Linked DNA regions of Homo sapiens: regions 2, 3, 4 and 5 are each linked to region 1. Evidence: promoter capture Hi-C in 16 types of primary human blood cells and fetal thymus (Javierre and others, 2016). All regions are on one chromosome and are shown on one strand. Each heading gives the region's core, a stretch centred on a gene start or on the middle of the fragment in contact. The rest is flanking DNA. Distances are from core to core; before and after follow the strand shown. Region 1 holds the start of NME1 (NME/NM23 nucleoside diphosphate kinase 1). Region 2 has its middle 34 kb from the start of TOB1-AS1. Region 3 has its middle 93 kb from the start of TOB1-AS1. Region 4 overlaps SPAG9 (sperm associated antigen 9). Region 5 overlaps SPAG9 (sperm associated antigen 9).

Region 1 (2,901 bases), core at 141-2,640:
TGCGCTCCGGCCTGGGCGCCAAAGCGATACTCGGTCTCAAAAAGAAAAAAAAGAAAACAGGAGAATAATGAAATTTTACTTATTTATTTTATTTATTTTTTATTTTTTTGAGACCGAGTCTCGCTCTGTCACCCAGGCTGGAGTGCCCTGGCGCAATCTCGGCTCACTGCAACCTCTGCCTCCCGGGTTCAAGCGATTCTCCTGCCTCAGCCTCCCGAGTAGCTGGGACTACAGGCGCCTGCAACCACGCCCGGCTCATTTTTGTATGTTTAGTAGAGACGGGGTTTCACTATGTTGCCCGGGCTGGTCTCGAATTCCTGAGCTCAAGTGATCCTCCCGCCGCTGCTTTCCAGCGTGCTGGGATTACAGGCGTGAGCCACCGCGCTCGGCCAAAAGTTTTAAATTTCAGTAAGTTCCAATTTATCAACTTTTTCCCTGTATAGATTGGTCTTTTGGTGTCGTCTAAAAACTATTTGCCTGGCCCTAGGTCCTGAGGATTTTTTTTAACTTTTTTTTTCCCCATAAGTGATTTATTGTTTTACATTTAAATCTATGATTCATTTTGAGTAAATTTTGTATAAGGTGAGAGGTTTAGGTTGAGGTTCTTTGGGTCTATATTCGTCCAATTGCTCCAGCATCATTTGTTGAAACGGCTCCTGATTCCATTTTTGTACCTTTCCCCCGTTCATTTCCCCTTAGAGCAGTGGGAATGTTTTTTTGTTAGTGATGATGTCATGCCTTGTGCAAAATCTGTATTAGCATCTCACAACATAAGATTTGGCTCTATTCTAACGGCATTTTCCACCACTCGATGTCCACCGTAATACTTGGCTCTCGAAGAATCACTGGGCTGGCTCCCTCACTTCATGCAGGTCTATTCTATTATCACTTACTCAGAGATTTCTCTGGCCTTTTCTTCACAGCACTTACAAAATGCGATCTATTACATATTAATTTGCTTATTTGCTTCTTGTTTTCCTATACTCCCATCCCTCCCAGAAGCTCCAAGAGAGCATACTGTTTTATCCCTAGGGCCTAGAATAATGCGTCCACGTAGTAGGTACTCAAAATTTTTTGCTTGACAGGCTAGAAAAGGTGAATAAACACAAAGCGGGAGCGAAAAGTCTACTTCTAGGTCAGGCACTCTTTGGACTTCACGCAACGTGTGAGCGCCACCTCTCGGGAAGCCAATTTGCTCGCGAACGAAGGAAGTGAGTCAGAGAACCCGGGGGTGGAGAGAAGAAAGCAAGCAGCTAACCGGAAAGGTCTGAAAAAGCTAGCGCCGGAAGTTAAACTGCAGAAAGTTGTTCCCTAGAATGACTGCCTACTCCCAAGAGGAAGCGTGGGCGAGCGGTGTTCTGCAAAATGGGCTCTCCGGCAGCGGATCTGCGCAGAAGCGTTCCGTGCGTGCAAGTGCTGCGAACCACGTGGGTCCCGGGCGCGTTTCGGGTGCTGGCGGCTGCAGCCGGAGTTCAAACCTAAGCAGCTGGAAGGGTAAGAGGTGTTCGGGATCCTGAGAGGAAAAAGAAAGGAGTGTAGTCGCGGGAGTGGGTTAGGTGAGGAGTTAGTGAAGAGATGAGTTCAGCTCTAAGAGGCGGCGAGGAGGATCGGATGGGAGGAGGGGCAGGGAGCGCCTGTGGACAAGTGCAGACCGGTCGGCGCACGTCCCACGCCACGTGGACTCGCCTTTGTCGGTGGCCGCCTTTCTCGTCAGGCCGCGACGACAGGGCTGTGCCTTATTTGTGTCTGTCGAGAGCAGTGCCGGGCACGGAGTTGGCGCTCTGTAAGTGCTTGCTGAATAAATGACGGGTGTGTGTGTCATTCATTCAGCAAGCACTGAGTGCTTACTGTTGTGTCACCGGGACCGATGTGGAGGGACATTTTTAGGGTGTATTTCTGGCGCTTTAGTCCTGTTTTCTCCTGGACAATTTATGCTTGCCCCGCACCCCATCGTGCGATTCTCCGCAGTCTTTGGGCTTTGTCTCTCTCTCTTTTTTTTTTTTTGGAAGTTGCAGAATGGTGATAAATGATTTTCTTTGCTCCTATTGACTGCTAGGCCCTGTGGCTAGGTACCATAGAGTCTCTACACAGGACTAAGTCAGCCTGGTGTGCAGGGGAGGCAGACACACAAACAGAAAATTGGACTACAGTGCTAAGATGCTGTAAGAAGAGGTTAACTAAAGGACAGGAAGATGGGGCCAAGAGATGGTGCTACTGTCTACTTTAGGGATCGTCTTTCAAGGCGAGGGGCCTCCTATCTCAAGCTGTGATACAGGGTAGGTCATGAGCGCAGTCTTCTGTAAAATGAGGGATCTGGACGGAATAGTTACTCTCTAGGCTTCCTTTCAGTATGATGTCCCGTATCAGATATTCCTAATGTCTGTAGTTCTCCCACACCCCACCGTTTATTGGCTAGTCAAAATATTCTTTGCATTGTAAAGTGTAGCATAACATTACAAGAATGGATTAATGGGTTGGGAATGCTGGGTTTTGGCCTTCATTCTGGTGCTGTGGTCCTGTTTCCTCATTTGTAAAATGAAGGGGGTTGTAAAGATATATTCTCTAAAACCCCTAATGCTATGGCTGTGGCATTAAGTCAAACTATTATTTCTTACTGCTTTGTACCGGACATCACTTTCACATTAGTAAAACTTTTCATCAGTGTAGTTTCTCCCAAGCTTGATTATTGAGAAAGATAGTGCCTTGTTTTTAACATCCTGTATCCTAGTTCCACCGCAGTGTTTGGTACACAGTAGATGTTTAAAAGAAGCTTATTAAATCAAATGGTGGCCAGGCTCATGGGGCTCACGCCTTTAATCCCAGCACTTTGGGAGGCTGAGGTGGGCAGATTACTTGAGGTCAGGAGTTGGAGACCAGCCTGGCCAACATGGTGAAACCCCA
Region 2 (2,901 bases), core at 214-2,713, 250 kb before region 1:
AACCCCTAATCAAGGCTGTGGGGGGAACAGAGCCAAGAGTTTATTTTTAATTTATTTTTATTTTTTTAGAGACAGGGTCTCACCCTGTTGCCCAGGTTTAAGCACAGTGGTACAATCGCAGCTCACTGCAGCCTCAAATTCCCAGGCTCAAGCGATCTTCCCACCTCAGCCTCCTAAGTAGCTGGGACTACAGGTGTGCACCACCACACTCAGCTAGTTTTTAAATTTTTTTGTAGAGACAGAGTCTCCCTACGTTGCCCAGGCTGGTCTTGAATTCCTGGGCTCAAGCGATCCTCCCAGCTCCGCCTCCCAGAGTGCTGGGATCAGAGGCATGAGCCACCGTGCTCAACCAAGAACCAAGAGTTTAAAGCTGGGCAGATATGAGACAAGAACAAGCCAGAATATCCAGGGATGATTATCCTAAACCCCAGGGAACTCGCTGTTTTCTCTGATGGCTGGTATGCGCATGGTACTCGGGTTATAGGGGCTGGCAAAGAGGGTCAGAAGTAGCCCTCTAACCAGTGCACTGGTTTCTACATGCTGCAGAGAAGTGGCCCAGTCATCACATCCTTTTCCATCCTCCCAGATAACCCGCATCAGTTCATCTGGGTGTGCTGTGGATTGCAAGGCATGAAGATTGACTATCTGTAATTGTTTCTGCAGGAGGCAAGCTGCAGGAGACGGAGGGAGGTAGAGCGAGGGGCCAAGTACACAGAGAGCAGGGCCTGTGAGGAGAGGATTGTCCCCCACTCTCCCTCTCCAGTTTCCTCTCTTTAGAAAGAAAAAGGAATGGACAGGGTCAGCAGAATCTGGAGGCTGCGTTGAAGCTGCCCGTGCTTCTGAACGAAGCAGCCAGTGCCGCTCGACCATCTGGGACACCGGTGGAATTCAGGGCCCCTCTCAGGACATTCAGGGCATGTGGACAAGGTCAGCCACAGGGTGAGGGAGATGGGTAGAGAAAAAGATAACAGGAAATGAATAAGAAAGGGAGCTGCAAAGAGAAAAAAGAGAGCTGGAGAGGAGTAAAGAGGTGAAGGCCCTGTTTCCTGTCCTTGGATTCTTACAGCTCTGCTCACAGCAGCTTCATTTCACACAGTGGCACCGACAACTGATGTGACCGCTTGGGGAGGCAGTAGTGGCGGGAGAAGGCTGGGTTGGGGACCAACTGGGTATGGCATGAGTTTCTGAACCTGGAGAACCTGAAGCCTGATGATCCCTGATGGGAGATGACAACAGGTGGACTGAGCCACTGAGGGGAGGGAGGCGAGCTGGGAGGGGAGGGGGGGGTTCCACGGCAAGCATGTGAATGAGGACACTGGTGGCTGGAGTCCTGGGAGCACCGCAGTCTCCTTTTGGGGTTGATCGGAGCCCTTGGCAGCTTGGGCAGCAGCCATTCATTGCTGTCTTCATTTTATTAACTTTAATTTGTAACTGGGTTGATCAGCAACTGTTCTTCCTGGAGGGTGTAATTAGGGTTATAAATAAAGTCAAGTGGAGAGTTTGGACAACCAAGGGCTGTGCATTCTGTGCTATACTGAGCCCGGGGCCCCCCACGACACCCTCCCTGGAGGACGCCATTTTCCAGCAATAGGTTTGTTGCCTCATTGACTCAAAGGGAAGGCTGAAGTCGCACAGAACCTCATACTTCATGATTTGGAAGGAGTCAGCGTTGGCAACCTTGATCTTCTAGAAACCAGCCATTTGGGGTATTTCCTGGTGGAGCCTTTTTAATTTAGAGCCCACAGCATTCAATTGATCCCAGATGTCCCAGCTCTTCCTTGAACCATCCAGGTATAGTGCATGCTCCTCCCCACCTACCCCATCCAGGCTGGACCCAAGGTCTCTCAGATCTGACTGCTTCTCTCCACCCCTACTGCCCAGGCTTTAGTTCAAGGACAACTCAGTTTCCCTCTGGATTATTCCTTGGTCCTCCTGGTCTCCCATGGCCCTCTCACTGTCTCCAAAGTAACCATCCTAAAGTACAAATATCTCCTTGTTACAGCACTCCAGGACAACCCCAAACAGCCAGCCCCTCACATCTCTTGCCTTTGCACATGCAGTTTCCTTCTCTTTGAATTTGTGTCTCTCTCTTGCCCTTACACGTCCATCATTGCTTGGTCTGAAATTGGTCCTCTACTCTCTTAAATCCTGTGTGTCAGTGTCATTCTGGATTTGCAGATGCATTTTGGACAGGGATCGTATCTCTGAATTTTTTTTCTCTAAGGTCTATCCCAGATAAGGCCCATATATAGATGTTCTAGGTGATAAGGTTCTAAATGTTCTATGTGATAAAGCTGCTGCTGTATATGTGGCTAAGTGTTGAAACCAACACTCTCCAATAAAACTTTACGTGGCGATGGAAATGTCCCATATCTGCCATGTCCAATATGGTAGCCACTAACAACATGTGGCGATTGAGCATTTCAAATATGACTATTGCAGTGAAGGAACTAAATTCATGGTATTGAATTTTAACTTAAGTAATTTAAATTCAAATAGCCACATCTGGCTAGTGGCTACCATATTGGACAGCACAGGTTTGGCTTAAGCCAACTTGGAATAAGGGTTAGTTAACAAGACTTCCTGCCTGTATCAAATTCAGCACCTCACAGCTATTTTTCAATCTTTGAATAAAATAAATAGCAGTAACAACAATATTTAATCCAGGATTAAATATTGTTTTGATAGCTCAGACTGGGGCAATGTCACAGGCTTATCATCCCAGGCAAACTTTTGATAGTCCAGGGCAATTTCATCTGTTTAAAACATGCTGAGGCTGGCGGTATCTTGCCAGCAAATGCCTTCTAAAGAAGGTGGAACATGGCCGGGTGTGGTGGCTCATGCCTTGTAATCCCAGCACTTTGGGAGGCTGAAGCAGGTGGATCACTTGAGGTCAGGAGT
Region 3 (2,901 bases), core at 185-2,684, 190 kb before region 1:
ATGACTTGGTTTTTGAGTTGCTCACTTCCAGCTCACATCTTAACACACCAGAGGGGTCTTTGGGAAGAAACGGCTGTCACTGCGGGGTCCCAGAAACATGGCTTTAATATGGGTGGGAAGGTCTGATAAACCCTTAATCGAGTGAAGCCCAGGACTGGGACTTTAAATCAGTCAAGGCCTGCCTAGAGGCATCTGCCCCGTTTCTGCTCTTCTCCAGCTAGGCTCCTTCAGGAAGGATCAACGTTTGAGATGTCTGTAAGAATCACATGCCAGATTTCTGCTCCTAGTTCCTTATGAACAGCCCCAGGCAAACTCTCCAAGACAGAAATGTAGACGGCATACATAGTAAAAGCCTGCTTGCTCAGAAGCCTATCAGGCCAAAATGCACCAACAGGCAAACAGCTGAAAATGCTCTCCTGAATTTGGAACTCAAACCCACTGTCACTTGTCTGGGGCTGGCCAAACGCAGGGGAAAGTCAGCTTGATGAGAAAGAATAGCAGGAAAATAAATCGAGGCCTCTGTGGGGGAAGCATACAAGTATCTGTTAACTGTCGAGTACTACATCTTTATGTGATCTCATTGGTTCTTTCCAACAATCCTGTGAATGAGAGACCATCATGACAATACAACTGATGAGGAAATCCAAGTTTCTGAAACACCATTCCAGTCTCTTTGGGTATCTCTGTACCTGAGACGTCCTACAAAAAATCTTAATCCCACTTCACATTAAAGCCATGTTTCAGGAACCCCAAGGTGACAGCCCTTTCTCCCAAAGACCCCTCTGGTGTGATATATGAGCCAGAATTTTGCATTCTTGCTTAGAAGGAGTGATGCTAAGCTTTTTAATCATGTAGAGAAGCATACGACCATCCTTGCCACTGTTCCACACCATTGTACATCTGATGATGCTAATATCTTATTTGGTCCTTTTTATCTGCTCTACCCACTTATATGCAGTGACTGTGAGTTTAATTATTGTCATAAAGCATTATGAGCAACAGATACTGAATAAATGTTTTGAGGACATCTGAAAATGTGAAATTTACCACTCTTTCATGCTTCAGTATGCCCCTCAATGTGCCTGCATAGGAATGAAATTAACTCTTAGATGCAAAAGAGAGTATGAATTATCTTGTGTTTAATTTTCACGGGATACTCCTTTTCCTTAAAATGGGGGGGGGGTGGGGTGGGACAACAGAGAACAGTATTCCCCAGAAGGTCCAATAGGCCCAAGCGACCCCTGCTTCCTAACACAGTTCTGTTAGGACAGACATGGCCTGGAACCCTGGTAAATAGAATAGAGATAAGAATATTCTGCATTCAACAGGACTTGCAGGCAGTTTTTCTTTTTATCACATTACAAAGTAGATACCATACCTACATCATTTGTTCAACTACTGCTTCTAATATGCAGCCACAGCACTTGATCACGTCACCATTTCCGCATCTGCTTTCCTTGACTAGCCCAGTCTCCTTGAGAGTGTCATAGTCATCTTCAGACACCTGGCATCTAGGAACCTCAGGTCTGCTACTGAGTGCCTAGCAGGGCCAGGTGGCAAGAACCCTTGGGGGTGTTACTCTTCTGACAGTAAGGAAACTGTGACTGAAGGGTCACAAAACTGGGAAACAGGAGATCCAGGATTCAAACCCAAGTCTCCTGATTTGAGATGTGGCACTTGTCCCAACACACCTGCAGTAGCCTCCAGTGTTCAGTTGTTGTACCGCCCACTGAGGCACCTGAGCCTTTACTTGTCTCAGTCGGACCTCTTTACCAGTGGGCAAGGCCACATCTGTGGTTAGGCCTCTGGATCATCTGAAAGCTGTAACACTCTAAAAAGGGGGTTTCCATGAAGATCAACTATGAATTTATAGGCTAAATACTTCAGAAAAAACTATCAGATGTTATGCAAATGCAAGCTAGGCATGATAACAACTAAATGGTTATGGCTTTTTCTAGAAAAAAAAAAAAAAATCAGGAAATAGCCCTGACACGTGAATACAGACTAATAGGAAATAAAATATTTCCTTTAAGCTTTTAATGTAGCAATTAACTTCCCACCTCCCTTCCCAAAGCACTGGGATGACAGGTGTGAGCCACCGTGCCCAGCCTGAGTTCCTCTTGGGCAGATGTTCCCAATGGGAGGATCAGAATCACCTGGTAATTGTTTCCCCATGTTCCCCAATAGAGTCTGATATTCTTGAGAGGAGAGAAAAAGAAAAAAATGTTTATTCTGTGAATAGCTCCCGGGGTGATTCTGGCCATGCCTCTCTCTCCCAGCCTAGCTGAGAACTGCAGCTTCTAACTGAAGTCGCTGTTCCCACGGAGCCGGGGCTTATTTGGTCCACTTCTCCTTTGGTGCTTCAAATCAAATTATAACTTCTTATGTTTTGGAGACAGGCTCAACCTCCCTAGGGCTCAGGTGATCCTCCTACCTCAGCCTCCCAAGTAGCTGGGACTACAAGTCCACACCACCATACTCAGCTAATTTTTAAAATTTTTTGTAGAGATGGGGGTCTCACCATGTTGCTCAGGCTGGTCTCAAACTCCCGGCCTCAAGTGATCTGCCTGCCTCAGCCTCCCAAAGTGCTGAAATAACAGGTGTGAGCCACTGCGCCCAGCTCCGTAACTCCTTTATGTCTGTGGGTGGGAGTGAATGTTCTGTGGTTAAAAGCAAGGAGCTAAACTATGTGGCTTCTTTTGTATAGTGTCATTCTGATAAATTGGAAATTCTAATTAATCCAATCCTACCCACTGGCTATCTGGGCCTCATGAGGGACTGGGCGACAATGGACTCGCAAGCAGGAGTGGTCCTTACTTGTATAGACAACAACCAGGCAAATCAGAGCCGGGCCACAGAACCAGGGAGGGTCAGAGCTAGGATTTTTTTAGATTACCTGAC
Region 4 (2,901 bases), core at 140-2,639, 150 kb before region 1:
TTTTCCTGACATTACTGGGTAAGTAGTATTGATTTCTATATTTGAAAAATGACCATCATTCCTAAGTAATAATAATTGCCTTTTAGAGGTCGTAGTAACATCCTCCAAGATCCCTTACTGGCCCAAAAAGCACCTCCTTTGATCACATTCTGTTGCTAATTCTGAGTGTTACTTTAAAAAGTCTCTCCTAGTAAACAGAGAAAGGGGCTTGGATCTTACAGGGCAGGACTTAAGTTCCACATGAAGGAATATTCAAACCTACAAAATAATAGTAGGAAAATAATGGAGCGCTTGTCATACAAACCGAATCATCTCTGTCCATCGAACAGCTTCCTGAAGCTCCATCAATCTCTCTTTATACTGGTTTCGCTCCATGAGAACACGGGCCATTTCTACTCTAGTAAACCGTTTCCTCTGGGCTGTGGGAATATCACTCTATAATGACAAGAAAATGACATATCATTCTGGAAGCTTATAAATGTCTTGGTGTTCATCTCAGAGTTATGCAAAATCTTTCAGTTTTTAAGCATTCCTTAATTTTTAATCTAGTAGATCATTTAAAGAAAAATGGCTTTATAAAAACAAAATCAACAAAGACTTTTTTTTAAAAAAATATATTTTTTGAGACAGGGCCTTGATCTGTTGCCCACCCTGAAGTGCAGTGGTGAAATCATAGCTCACTGCAGCCTGGAACTTCTGGGTTAAAGCAATCTGCCCACCCCAGCCTCCTGAGTAGCTTGGACTACAGGTACATGTCAACACGCCTGACTAATTTTTAAATTTTTTTGTAGAGACAGGGTCTCGTTATGTTGCCCAGGCTCATCTTGAAATACTGGACTCTAGTGGTGCTCCTGCCTCAGCTTCTCAAAGTGTTGGGACTACAGGTGTAAGCCACTGTGCCCAGCCAACAAAGAGATTTAAATAATCACTCATGACTACAAAGATAAAAGGCAGCAATTTAATTTCTGAATATATATACACAGATATTTGAACATATTATAAAGAAATCATAAAGAGTAGTGTGGGTCTGTTCTCATGGTTCTTAAAAATATATAAAAAATAAAGCTAAAAAATAAAAAGAATAGTAGGGGGCTGGACGCAGTGACTCACGCCTGTAGTCGCGGCACTTTGGGAGTCTGAGGCGGGTACAATGCTTGAGCTTAGTTTGAGACCAGCCTGGGCAACATAGTAAAACCCTGTAGCCAGGAGTGGTGGCACACACCTGTAGTCCCAGCTACTTGGGAAGCTGAGGTAGGAGGATTGCTTCAGCTGGGAGGTCAAGGCTGCAGTGAGCCATGACCATACCACTGCAGTCCAACCTGGGCAAGAGAGTGCAATCCTGTCTTTAAAAAACAAAACAACAACAACAACAAAAACAACAACAAAAACAAACAGTAGGGCCAGGCACGATGGTCCACGCCTATAATCCTAGCACTTTGGGAGTATCACTTTGAGCCCAGGAATTTGAGACCAGCCTTGGCAATGTGGTGTGAGATCCCATCTCTACAGAAAATAAAAAATTAGCCACGTATGGGGTGGCGCACAACTTTGGTCCCAGCTACTCAGGAGGCTGAAGTTAAAAAAAAAAAAAAAGCATAGAATTGCTTGAGGCCAAGAGTTCAAGACCAGCCTAGGCAACATAGTGAGACCCTGGCTCTACAAAAAATAAAATTAAATTAATAGCCAGGTGGGGTGGCATGCACCTGTAGTTCCAGCTACTTGGGAGGCGGAGGCAGGAGGATCACTTGAGCCCAGGAGTTCAAGGCTGTGGTGGGATATGATTGCCACTGTACTCCTCCAGCCTGGAGGAGTGACAGAGCAAGACTCTGTCTCTAAAAAATAGTAATAATACTAAAATAAAAATAAAGGATAGTGCAGATTTTAAACTAAAACCAAAATTGTTATCTACATAGATTTAATACACTATTGTAAGTTTCACCTAAAAATGTTGCTCTACCATTATTTTAATTCATGCTCTGTAACAATCGTCACTCAGAAAATAGTTATAAGTTAGTTCCATTTATCTCAAATTACCAAACCACATACTCACCCAAGACCAGCATTAAGGGTAAACTTATTACCTAGTTACCAAGGTACTCAACTATAAGAGTCGCTAAAATACCAACATAAATGCAAACAGATGGAGACAACTGTATTAGCCAGAATTACTCTTAGACAGAGTATGTGAATATAGAGTGAGCACAGGGGTAAGACCTCAAGGGAACATGGCTCAAGTCAACGTCCTATAGGCTTTCATTATCCACATTTTGGATCAAAGCTGAAAGGTTTGGGACATAAGAAAGACACTAAGCTTAGCCCTTAGCAGTCCTCCTCCTTTGTTGTTCTGTTATAGAAACTGGGCCTCTCCTTTCAATAAAGTTAAACAACAAATGATAAAGATCTTAAGTTTATAACACAGCAAGCCCACTAGTAGGTATGTACTCTGGAAAGGCTACTGCTCCTGCCCACCTGGAGACTTCTACTGTAATGTTTGTAACAACAGCATTGTAAAAAGCTGAGACAAACTAAATATTCCTTAACAGGAAAATAAATACATAAATTGTGACTATTCATTCAATGGGATATCATAAAGTAGTGAATATGAATGATAACTACAGCACTGTACTACACGGATGAATCTCAAAAACATGCCACTGAGGAAAAGAAGCTGGTCTCCAAGACTAAATGTAGTGTGAAACACAAAAAAGGAAAAATTAAACCATATATACATATGTGATATGATAAAATTTTTTTTTTAAGTTAAGCAAATGATAAATATAGGATAGCAGCTTTCTCTGCAGGGGAGGAACACAGAATAGTTCAATGTCTAGTAATGTTCTAATTATCAGATTGGGTGGTAGGTTCACAATGTTAATTTATTATGATTCATAACCTGCATGT
Region 5 (2,901 bases), core at 130-2,629, 130 kb before region 1:
TCATAGCTTTTATCAGATATTCAAAGGGGTTTGCAGCTCCAAAATAATTATAAACAATTGTCCAGTGGCTATCAAAAATGAAGCAGTTCTTTTGGAGCACCCAGGTTTTAAGAAAAGAGAAACTGACAAAAAGTTTACAGCCACCACCACTAATAATAATAATAATAATAATAATAATAACAATAGGCCGGGTGCAGTGGCTCACGCCTGTAATCCCAACACTTTTGGAGGCCGAGGCAGGCGGATCACCTGAGGTCGGGAGTTCAAGACCAGCCTGACAAACATGGAGAAACCCTGTCTCTACTAAAAATACAAAAAATTAGCCGGGCATGGTGGCGCATGCCTGCAATTCCAGCTACTCGGGAGGCTGAGGCAGGAGAAACACTTGAACCCGGGAGGCAGAGGTTGCAGTGAGCTGAGATCGCATCCAGTCTGGGCAACAAGAGTGAAACTCCATCTCAAAATAATAATAATAATAATAATAATAATAATAAATCAGGGTTAGGGTAAATTAAGTGAATTTATCATTCACTAAATGTATGACCTTGGGTAAGTAATGTATTCTTTCTAAACCTTTGTTTTATCATCTGTAAAATATAGATAACAGTATCTACTTCTTAAGATTCTTATTAAGTTATTCTACATTATGGCTTAGCAATGTGTTTCACACATACTAAGAATTTAAAATATTAACTATTATTATAATAGTAACTATTTGTATAATTCTAAATACATAATTATATATTTTTATAATTTATAACTATTATAATAGTAACTATTAGTATAATTATAATACATAATTATATATTTTTATAATTTATTAATTTATAATATTTTAATTATAAATTATATATACTATATATAATTCCCTTAAGGGAGTATCAGCAGGAATTATTGCCACATCGATTTAGCTATTGATGCTGAAGTGGTAGCTTTAGATCCACCTTGGCTAACATCAGAAAGTTCAACCTACAAATAGAAGTAATTTAAAAGAAATTTTAATTGAGTAATTTATTCTAAAGTACTTTAAAAATTGGTTAAGAAATAAATTTGCCCAGAGAAAGTCACAATTTTTTTAAAAGGCAATAAAGAGTCACCGATTATCAATAAATAATCTCTCTAGCTCCTCTGCAAATAATTGGGAAATATTTAAGTAAATCGTATTTTTCCAGGCGTACATGAAATTCTTCTTTTTTTTCTAAGACAGAGTCTCGTTCTTGTCACCCAGGCTGGAGTGCAGTGGCATAATCTCAGCTCAATGCAACCTCCACCTTCCAGGCTCAAGCGATTCTCGTGCCTCAGTCCCCTGAGCACCTATGATTACCGGCGTGCGTCACCATGCCCCACTAATTTTTTGTATTTTTGGTACAGACGGAGTTTTGCCACGCTGCCCAGGCTGGTCTCAGATGCCTGGCCTCAAGCGATCTGCTGGCCTCAGCCTCCCAAAGTGCTGGGATTACAGGCGTGAGCCATTGCGCCCAGCCGATTTTTCTAAATAGAAAATTTGAAAATACAATACGAAAGGCATTAGCAGCCAGGCTCGGTGGCTCACGCCTGAAATCCCGACATTTTGGGAGGCCCAGGCAGGCGGATCACCTGAGGTCAGGAGTTTGAGACCAGCCTGGCCAACATGGCGAAACCCGTAATCTACTAAAAACACAAAAATTAGGCATGGTGGCAGGTGCCTGTAATTCCAGCTACCCGGGAGGCAGAGGTTGCAGTGAGCTGAGATCGCACCACCGCACTCCAGCCTGGGGGATAGAGCGAGACTCTCTCCAAAAAAGGAAAAGCATTAGTGATAAAATTACACACTGATGTCAACATCATTTTAATGGCAGTTGCAATACTGTATCACTATTAATTACAGTATATTGTACATATTAATTATAATATATTGTACAATATATTTTACACAACATATAAAAATAAAATAGCATATCCATGTTAAGAGTACAATACTTTGGCCAAGCGTGGTGGCTCATGCCTGTAATCCCAGCACTTTGGGAGGACGAGGCAGGCAGATCACCTGAGGTCAAGAGTTCGAGACAAGCCTGGCCAACATGGAGAAACTCCGTCTCTAAATCAGCCGGGCGTGGCGGCACACGTCTGTAATCCCAGCTATTAGCGAGGCTGAGGCAGGAGAATCACTTGAACCCAGGAGGCAAAGGTTGCAGTAAGCTGAGATTGCACCATTGCACTCCAGTCTGGGCAAAAAGAGCAAGACTCTGTCTCAAAAAAAAAAAAAAAATTGTACAATACTTCATGTATGCCTGTAATCCCAGCTACTTCGGAGGCTGAGGCACAAGAATCGCTTGAATGGCCTGGGCAACACAGCAAGATCCCATCACATAAAACAATAATAATGTATTGTACACTTAAAATTTTTAGAGGGTAGATCTCATATTAAATGTTCTTACCACAATAAAATAAAAAAGGCTGAGGCAGGAGAATCGCTTGAACCCAGGAGGCAGAGGTTTCAGTGAGGCAAGATTGCGCCACTGCACTCCAGCTTGGGCAACAGAGCAAGACTTCATCTCAAAAAAAAAAAAAAAATTGGCCAGGTGCAGTGGCTCACGCCTGTAATCCCAGCACTTTGGAAGGCCGAGATAGGTGGATTAGTTGAGGTCAGGAGTTCCAGACCAGCTTGGCCAACATGGGGAAACCCCGTCTCTACTAAAAATACAAAAATTAGCCAGGCATGGTGGCACATGCCTGTAATCCCAGGTACTCAGGAGGCTGAGGCAGAGGAATCATTGAACCCAGGAGACGGAGGCTGCAGTGAGCCAAAATTGTGCCACCACACTCCAGTCTGGTGACAGGGTGAGACTCTGTCTCAAAAAAAAAAAAAAAAAAAAAAAAAAAAAATGCTATTTTCTTGAATTGGTAACTGGCACCCAATAT

The links. The method cuts DNA at HindIII sites, captures the fragments that hold promoters and counts their contacts. A CHiCAGO score of 5 or more calls a contact.
Region 2: a contact is called between a fragment that was not itself captured here and the fragment with the promoter of NME1 in region 1, in 5 of 17 cell types (total CD4 T cells, M0 macrophages, neutrophils and 2 more). The highest score is 7.0, in total CD4 T cells.
Region 3: a contact is called between a fragment that was not itself captured here and the fragment with the promoter of NME1 in region 1, in 5 of 17 cell types (neutrophils, monocytes, M2 macrophages and 2 more). The highest score is 11.0, in neutrophils.
Region 4: a fragment that was not itself captured here is called in contact with the fragment with the promoter of NME1 in region 1 in 17 of 17 cell types (naive CD8 T cells, activated CD4 T cells, total CD8 T cells and 14 more); the score reaches 42.5 in naive CD8 T cells.
Region 5: a fragment that was not itself captured here is called in contact with the fragment with the promoter of NME1 in region 1 in 12 of 17 cell types (M2 macrophages, neutrophils, naive CD8 T cells and 9 more); the score reaches 18.4 in M2 macrophages.

What each region holds. Positions count from the first base shown.
Region 1 is chr17:51,152,169-51,155,069 of GRCh38, forward strand. It overlaps NME1 (NME/NM23 nucleoside diphosphate kinase 1), which reads left to right and starts at 1,391. Exons shown (of 5, transcript NM_000269.3): 1 at 1,391-1,494. NME1-NME2 (NME1-NME2 readthrough) reads left to right here and starts at 1,391. Exons shown (of 9, transcript NR_037149.2): 1 at 1,391-1,494; 2 at 2,057-2,276. RefSeq lists enhancers at 704-1,903, 927-1,458, 1,242-1,661. The HindIII fragment of the contact is 18,411 bases long and covers 1-2,676 here.
Region 2 is chr17:50,899,454-50,902,354 of GRCh38, forward strand. No RefSeq gene overlaps it. Among named protein-coding and RNA genes, the nearest start is that of TOB1-AS1, 34 kb to the left of the region's middle. The HindIII fragment of the contact is 4,004 bases long and covers 1-2,901 here.
Region 3 is chr17:50,958,078-50,960,978 of GRCh38, forward strand. No RefSeq gene overlaps it. Among named protein-coding and RNA genes, the nearest start is that of TOB1-AS1, 93 kb to the left of the region's middle. The HindIII fragment of the contact is 1,194 bases long and covers 838-2,031 here.
Region 4 is chr17:51,001,411-51,004,311 of GRCh38, forward strand. SPAG9 (sperm associated antigen 9) reads right to left here. Exons shown (of 30, transcript NM_001130528.3): 13 at 305-435. Among named protein-coding and RNA genes, the nearest start is that of SPAG9, 120 kb to the right of the region's middle. The HindIII fragment of the contact is 1,840 bases long and covers 470-2,309 here.
Region 5 is chr17:51,022,482-51,025,382 of GRCh38, forward strand. The region is part of intron 6 of SPAG9 (sperm associated antigen 9); the gene reads right to left. Among named protein-coding and RNA genes, the nearest start is that of SPAG9, 97 kb to the right of the region's middle. The HindIII fragment of the contact is 6,346 bases long and covers 1-2,901 here.